3 separate regions of the Homo sapiens genome follow, and regions 1 and 2 are each linked to region 3. The links are contacts of gene promoters, found by promoter capture Hi-C in human tissues and cell types (Jung and others, 2019). All regions are on one chromosome and are shown on one strand. Each heading gives the region's core, a stretch centred on a gene start or on the middle of the fragment in contact. The rest is flanking DNA. Distances are from core to core; before and after follow the strand shown.

What was found. Contacts are between HindIII fragments. The study calls those that stand out against the background at their distance.
Region 1: a contact is called between a fragment that was not itself captured here and the fragment with the promoter of ACY3 in region 3, in 1 of the 25 tissues and cell types used here (H1 embryonic stem cells).
Region 2: a contact is called between a fragment that was not itself captured here and the fragment with the promoter of ACY3 in region 3, in 2 of the 25 tissues and cell types used here (spleen and stomach).

The regions. Positions count from the first base shown.
Region 1 is chr11:67,791,541-67,794,444 of GRCh38, reverse strand. It overlaps the pseudogene ALG1L8P and the pseudogene FAM86C2P. Among named protein-coding and RNA genes, the nearest start is that of LINC02754, 91 kb to the left of the region's middle. RefSeq lists enhancers at 397-1,208, 2,022-2,834. The HindIII fragment of the contact is 4,732 bases long and covers 1-2,904 here.
Region 2 is chr11:67,819,785-67,822,484 of GRCh38, reverse strand. All of the region lies in intron 3 of LOC112268076 (translation initiation factor IF-2-like), which reads left to right. It also overlaps the pseudogene ENPP7P7. Among named protein-coding and RNA genes, the nearest start is that of LINC02754, 63 kb to the left of the region's middle. The HindIII fragment of the contact is 6,215 bases long and covers 1-2,700 here.
Region 3 is chr11:67,649,480-67,652,179 of GRCh38, reverse strand. It overlaps ACY3 (aminoacylase 3), which reads left to right and starts at 1,450. Exons shown (of 8, transcript NM_080658.2): 1 at 1,450-1,597. RefSeq lists enhancers at 1,169-1,228, 1,299-1,378. The HindIII fragment of the contact is 14,698 bases long and covers 1-2,700 here.

The DNA.
Region 1 (2,904 bases), core at 326-2,825, 140 kb before region 3:
AAACCCCATCTCTACTAGAAACACAAAAATTAGCCAGGAGTGGCGGTGCACGCCTATAATCCCAGCTGCTCGGGAGACTGAGGCAGGAGAATCATTTGAACCTGGGATGCATTGCAGTGAGCTGAGATTGCACCACTGCACTCCAGCCTTGGGAACAGAGTAAATCTCTGTTTAAAAAAAAATAATAAATGAGGCTGAGGCAGGACCATCACTTGAGGCCATGCATTCAGGACCCCATCTCTACAAAATAAAAAAATTACTAGCATGGTGGCACGCACCTGTCATCCCAGCTACTCAGGAAGTGGGAGGATTGCTAGAGCCCAGGAGTCGAGGCTGTAGTGAGCAATGACTGTGCCACTGCACTCCAGCCTGGGTGACAGAACAAGATCGTATCTCAAAAAAAAAAAAAAAAAGAATCATTCTGGCTAACGGCTCTTCAGACATCTGTGCTTATGAGAACACCAGCCCCTTCTAAGCTGTGTGTGTGCGTGTGTGTGTGTGTGTAATTTTTTTTTTTTTTTTTTTTTTGAGATGGAGTCTCACTCTGTCACTCAGGCTCAAGTGCAGTGGCACAATCTCGGCTCACTGCAACCTCCGCCTCCTGGGTTCAAGCAATTCTCCCGCCTCAGCCTCCCAAGTAGCTGGGATTACAGGCACCCACCATCGTGCCTGCCTAATTTTTGTATTTTTGTAGAGATGAGGTTTTACCATGTTGGCCAGGCTGGTTTCGAACTCCTGATCTCAAGTGATCCACCCGCCTTGGCCTCCCAAAGTGTTGGGATTACAGGCGTGAGCCACTGTGCCTGGACGCTTTCTAAGCTTTGTGAATAGTGGGTTGACTGAGCAGCCAGGTAGATGTGGGTTCAGATCTCTGCATCTGTCCCGCTGTGCCAAGTGCTGGGGCAGATGCGGGCAGAGAGTGGACAGCGGCACGGTGCCTGCTGCTAGCCATTTCTATGCAAAACCAGATTTCTTGTCCCATCCTGGAGGCCAATTCTAGGCACCTGGGTGGGCCTGGGAACCTGTGAACCAAGTAAACTGACTTGGACACACCCCCCACCCCGCCAGGCCTGTCCTAGCAGCCCCACACAATACGCTCATGTCCTGTCCCCAAACACTGCCATCCTGAAACACATGTCCTCTGTTTCCAGGCCGGGCTGGGATCAGATGGGAAGTGGAACCTCGTCATGACCAGAAACTGTTTCCCTACGAAGAGCACTTGGAGATGGCAATGCTGAACCTCACACTGTAGGACTCACATACGACTCCAACGGGATTGTGAGAATCAAGTCACTCTAGTGGGAAGAGTTTTTATATGGGAAAGCGGATAAAACTTTCATTGGACTGGAATGTTTGGAGAATGTTAATTTCCAAATCAGGAACCACAAACTGCCCTCTAATAAGACATCAGCTATCTAAGCATGTGGGTGCTCCCTTTCTGCCAGCAGTTCTGGTTCTTAAGAAAATCGCCATCAATCAGACATGAAATCTCTGGCTCCAAAAATAGCATTTTCTTTGTGCAAATAAAAACGTGTGTATCAAGTATGATGTTCCCCCAATGTGGACACACTCGGTTCCCCACAAAGCCAAGCCCGCTGCAGCTGCCACATCCCTGGACACATTCGGTTCCTCACAAAGCCAAGCCCGCTGCAGCTGCCACATCCGTGGACACACTCGGTTCTTCACAAAGCCAAGCCCACTGCAGCTGCCACATCCCTGGGCTTACAGTGCAGCAGGTGCTTTTTTCAAGACAGGAATCAAAATGTTAGGAACACGGCGGAAAGATGACACCTGGAGAGCAAACGCAGGATGAGGAGTACTGCAGAGGTCACACGGAAGTCGCAGAACAGTAATCCGCTAGCAGGGGCATGGGGCGTGAAGAACAGAAGAAGATAGGAAGTGTTTCCGAGCCTCCAGAAAAGAAATCAGAGCCAAGCACAGCTTCCCGGGTCACAGAACCAATTCATTTACCAGGCGGCACCACTGCCGTCATTTCACCTTCTGGCCACTGGGAGGCGCTGCTCGAAAGGGTTTGCCCTGAGACTCCGAGAAGAAGCTGCGGGAAGGACAGCAGGGGTCCCGGGGTTTTAGCCTCTGGCCCAGGAGTTATGTGTCCATAACCAAATGGAGCACACTCTGCACCCAGCTCTCATCCCATCGGAGCTGCTGCGATTCCCGCAGGTTCTTCCAGAACTGGTTTAGCTTGCCCGCAGGATCAGGAAAGTTTGAGAAAAGCATCTGCAAAAAAATAAAGAGCAGAGCTTAACTCATTTCCTGTCCCCACCCCATCCCAGGTCACCACCTGGCTGACCCCAGGTCCCCGACCCAACAACAAACCCTCCCAAGTTCCTAACTCCCTCACTTGGACTCGAGACTCTTCACGCCCCAGCAGCGCTCCGCCTCCAACTTGACATCACGCTTTCTGTCCCACTTTCCCACACTTCGTGCCCTGGAGCACCTCCCGGCCTCTACACGCTGTATGTTCCCCTGCGAGCACCCTCCTCTTGGCCTCTGGCCAAGTCCCACCCATCTGTGGGTAACAAGGGGGTGTTGGTGTTCTTTTCAGCCTTGCTAAACTGTCTGAATCAAGGATCACAAACTACAGCCTGCAGGCCAAATCCAGCCCACAGCCTGTGTTTGTAAATAAAGTTTTATTGGAACAAAGCCACACCCCTTAATCGAAGATGATCTGTGGCTACTTTCACACCACAACAGAGTACCATGGTTCTGACAGAGACTAGGAGACACAGTCTAAATGACTTCTGACCTGGACCTTTACTGAAAATCCTGCCAATCATTCTGTTGGCAAGAATGATGTATTACTTTTAGCAATAAGAAACAAGTAACCTTTGCAGAATTCCACCCATCTTTCAAGGCTGGTCCCAGAAGTTCCCTTTGCCCATG
Region 2 (2,700 bases), core at 102-2,601, 170 kb before region 3:
TGGGATTACAGTCATAAGCCTCCGCGCCCAGCCCAGAGCACACTTTTTTTTTTTTTTATACGGAGTCTCACTCTGTCACCCAGGCTGGAGTTCGGTGGCAAGATCTCGGCCCAGAGCACACTTTTAACCACCATATCATTATGCCTCTGGGTAGGTCAGTCAAGCTCTGTAGCTGATCAGATGTCTGTAGAGAGAAGGAGACATCGGTCTCCCCTTCTTCCAAACACCCCCGAATTTTACAAGTGATTTTCTCAGATCCCTCAGCATCAGGAATGGGGATGAGCAGGGCAGCCTGTCCCCTTCCCAACAGCCCAGCAGATATCCGAAGATTACATCTCATTGGCTCTGACTAGGACATGAGCCCAAAGCTGAACCAGTTGCTGTAGCCATGGCATGCAGCATCCTCTGTCCTCTGGCCAGGCCAGAGCCACATCCCACCTCTGGATCCTCGAGTTGAGTGAATACATCTTGAACCAGGCACGGACTGAAGCTCAAGGGGGAGTCAGAGTAATGTGACCCAGCCCAGCATGTAGTGGGTGCTGAGCAGGCAAGCATTCATCACCCACTGCACACACCAGGGAAGGCTTGTGGTGGCTTAGTCCCACCTGGGGGCAAAGGAAAGAGTGCCTGCTCCGTGCCAAAATGTGATGCCCCACACTGTATCTTAAAGCTAGCTGGCTTTGTAATCCCAGCTACTTGGGAGGCTGAGGCAGGAGAATCACTTGAATCCAGGAGGCAGAGGTTGCAGTGAGCCAAGATCACGCCATTGCACTCCAGCCTGGGTGACAAGAAAGAAATTCTCTCTCAAAAAAAAAAAAAAAAAAAGCTAGTCGACTTAATCCTCGCAAAGATGCCATCTACTTTTTGGCATTCTACAGGTAGAAACACTGAGACACTGGAAAATTTAAAAACTCACAACCAGCCGGGTGCAGTGTCTCTTGCGTGTAATCCCAGCAGTTTGAGAGGCTGAGGCAGGAGAATCACTTAAACCCAGGAGTTCAGGACAAGCCTGGGCAAATTAGCGAGACCTCATCTCTACAAAGACTAAAAAAAAAAAAAAAAAAAAAAAAATTAGGGCTAGGCGCGGTGGCTCACACATGTAATCCCAGCACTTTGGGAGGTCAAGGCAGGTGGATCACTTCAGCCCAGGGGTTCGAAACCAGCCTGGCCATCACGACAAAACTCTATCTCAATTAAAAATGCAAAACTTAGCTGAGCATAGTGGCACGTGTCTATAATCCCAGCTACTTGGGAGGCTGAGGCAAAAGAATTGCTTGAACCCAGGAGTCAGAAGTTGCAGTGAGCTGAGATCGTGCCACTGCACTCCAGCCTAGGTGAGAGAGTGACACCGTGTCTCAAAAAAATATATATATATAGGTATGGTGGTACATGCCTGTGGCCCCAGCTACTCAAGAGGCTGAGGTAGGAGGATCGCTTAAGCCCAGGAGTTCAAGGGTGCAATGAGCTATGATTGTACCACTGCACCACTATATATACACATATATATATGTATATGTATATAGGTATGTCTATATATACACATATATATACATGTATATGTATGTATATATATGTGTATATATATAAAAAACACACATGCACAGATTCACCACCAACAACTCAGAAATTACCGTCTCCCTCTATTCTAAGGAATTATTTTTCATTTTGCCATCTCTGAAGTTGTAATACACCTTACAATCACTGGAATGTCACAGTCTCGTTGGCGGCATTTTTCTGCTTAGTAGCCCATAAAATAATAGTACATCTTGTAACTAACAGTGTTGTAGATGCTATGAGATCCTGGGGAATCCCAGAATCTAACTCCACCCTGTCTGACTCCAAAGACCACATATTTTCTATGTCTTTGGACTGGGGCACAGATGTAGACAACTCGAGCTTTGCTGATTGTGAGAAAGGTATGAGAAATGGCCCTGATGGAATTTTCTTATTGTACGTGAAGGGGAAGAAAGCAGCATCATCCCACTATTCCAGGGGAGGTGCTAAATACGAGGGTGAGGCTGTCAAGCGGTCCCTGGTGGAGTCCTACACTCACCAAAATAACAACGAGACAGAGCAGAGGGAGAACATCGATACCGTCATGAACTGCTTCACCAAGGAAGACTTTGACTTTGTGACTCTGTACTACAGACAGCCAGATAACGTAGGACATCGATTCAAGCCAGAGGCAGAGAATAGGAAGTTGATGATTCAGCAACTCGACAGGACCATCTGGTATCTGGTGGGAGCCACTGAGAAGCACAGCCTGCAGAGCACCTCAGGTCATCATCACATGAGACCATGGGATGATGACCGTGAAGAAGAGACCCAATGTCAACAAGATCCCTTGTCCAACTACATCAAGTTCAGGGACTGGGTCAAGTTTGATATTGTGGGCTATGGTGGCTTTGGGCTGCCCCTACCCAAACTGGGGCAAGAAGAAGCCCTTTACCAGGCACTGAAGAATGCGCACCCTCACCTCCACATCTACAAGAAGGAGGAGTTTCCAGAACACTTCCATCTCGCTAAACATGACCGGGTTCTGCCAATCGTGATGTATGCCAACTCTAGTTACAGTATCAATGGGATAAGTTCATTCTAAAATGAATAAAGTCACCTTGGATCTAGGAGACAACCATTAGGGAAGGGTGGTTCTGCAAAAATCAAACATGAGTGCACAGCCAGGCACAGTGGCTCACGCCT
Region 3 (2,700 bases), core at 201-2,700:
TGTCTAGCCTGGAATGCAGCCATACGATAACGGCTCACTGTACTCACGGTACGATTACCTCCAACTCCCCGTGCTCAAGTGATTCTCCCGCCTCAGCCTCCTGAGTAGCTGGGGCCACAGCTGTGTGTGCCACCACCTGGCTAATTTTTTTTTTTTTTTTTTTTTGAGACAGAGTTTCGCTCTTGTCGCCCAGGCTGTAGTGCAATGGCATGATCTCGGCTCACTGCAACCTCTGCCTCATGCCTCAGCCTCCCAAGTAGCTGGGATTACAGGCACCCACCACCATGCCTGGATAAATTTTGTATTTTTAGTACAGACGGGGTTTTGCCATGTTGCCCAGGCTGGTCTTACACTCCTGACATCAGGTGATCCACTCGCCTCAGCCTCCCAAAGTGCTGGGATTATAGGTGTGAGCCACCGCGCCCACCCTAATTTTTTTTTTTTTTTTGGTAGAGACAGGGTCTCCCTATGTTGCCCAGGCTGGTCTTGAACACCTAGGCTCAAGCAATCTGCCCCCCTTGGCCTCCCAAAGTGTTGGGGTTACAGGTGTGAGCCACTGCACCCAGCTGACAAAGAAGCTCTTGAACAAATTCATTTAATGAGATTCTCTAGCACTAAAATAGTCCTACCTCATTGTAATGTTTTGTAGAGTATCTTATAAAACAATGAAAAAAAACCAGTATTTTAATACATATTTTTCTGTATATTTCCTTCTAGCCTTTGTACATATGATCACATATTTGTAAAAAGTTGTATGTATATATATACAACTTTACCCGCTTTGTGTGATGATATGACAAAAACATTTATCTGAAAAAAGTATTTTTTTCATCAAATGGCAGAGCTCCTGTTTCTGGTAACCCGGGGTATGGCAAGTAGGGGCTCTGGGAGATGGAGCAGCTCAGCCTCCTGTGAAAAATTCTGTTTCTCTAAAAAAGAACAAATTCTCATGCTGGGCGCGGTGGCTCACGCCTGTAATCTCAGCACTTTGGGAGGCCGAGGCGGGCGGATCACGAGGTCAAGAGATCGAGACCATCCTGGCTAACACGGTGAAACCCCGTCTCTACTAAAAATGCAAAAAATTAGCCGGGCGTGGTGGCGGGCGCCTGTGGTCCCAGCTACTCAGGAAGCTGAGGCAGGAGAATGGCGTGAACCCGGGAGGTGGAGCTTGCAGTGAGCCGAGATCGCGCCACTGCACCCCAGCTTGGGTGACAGAGCCAGACTCTGTCTCAAAAAAAAAAAAACGAATTCCCAAAACTAGTCCCACTGTTGTCTACCCAGATCCGGGATCCGGGTTGCCCTTGGCCTGGCCAGAGATGCCTCTCAATCCCCCACGGCACGTAGAGCCAGACAGAAACCGAAAGCAGAGGTGCCCTGCGCTGAAGTCTAGAGATCCCACTGCTAGGTCCAAAGAATTTACCCTTTCAGTCAACCCACGGGGCAAAGTCCACTTTCTTCCCTGAAGGAGCAGCACAGAACAAAAGCTCCAGGCAGCTGCTTCCGCTGTTTCGGGGGTAGGGCGGAGTGACAGCCCCACGGGCCACGCAGCAAGCAGAAGATCCCCGGGAGTCACCCTCAACCCTCTGGGGCCACGTGGGTGAGTTCGCCCGGGGAAGGTGCCGCGGCCCACTGCTTTACCTTAGTGAGCCTCAAGAAGTTAGGATCAGAATCCCAGTCGGCCCCATCTGGGTCGCCAGAGTTTTGTTACCCACACAACGGGTGGGCTCAGTTGCTTGGCGGGTGTTAACTAAAGAGGATTTAATAGGGGATTTTATTTCTTGCAACAAGTAAGGAGAACACCTAGACAGCTCCCAAAGCAGTGTCTCCCCGAGCTGAGGGCTGGGGCAGGTTTTATAAGCATAGGGTAATGAGGCGTGATCTGATTGCATCTTGCAATGAGGTGATGCTGGGAGGCATGATCTAATTGGATGCTGACACAGGGGGGAACCACAGCTCTGACCCCTCTCTGGGTCTCAGTTTCCCCAACTGCAGTGAGGAAATTGGCCCCCGTGATGATGCCCATGACATCACCATCCTCTGCCCTCACTCATGCTGGGGTCTCCATGTGCCCATTTTCAAGCTTGTGCCCGCCCTTTGTTCCTCACTCCCCACAGCTGCCCTTGGCCAGGACTTTCACAGGGTGGAGCCAAGGCCCAGAGAGGGCACTGAATCTCTCCAGGTCACACAGCCTGTCAGGGAGGTGGGGCCAGAGCCAGGTCACACGTGTGCACACAACACACACACACGCACACATGCTCACGCACATGCACGCACACACGCTCTCAAGCACATGCACACATGCACACACATGCACACACACTCTCATGCACACACGCACACATGTACACACACATGCATGCACACATGCACACAATACTCTCATGCACATGCACACACGTACACACGCACACATGCATGCTGTCACACATGCGCACACACGCACACATGCTCTCATGCACACACGCACACATGTACACATACATGCACACATGCACACAATACTCATGCACATGCACACACATGTACACACGCACGCACACACGCATGCTGTCACGTACACATGTGAGTGCACACACGCACACACATGCTCTCATGCACACGCACACATGTACAGATGCACACATGCATGCACACACATGCACACACGCGCACACACTGCCAGGACTGGGGGCTGCTGTTTCTGAGGGTTCCTGGACCCCG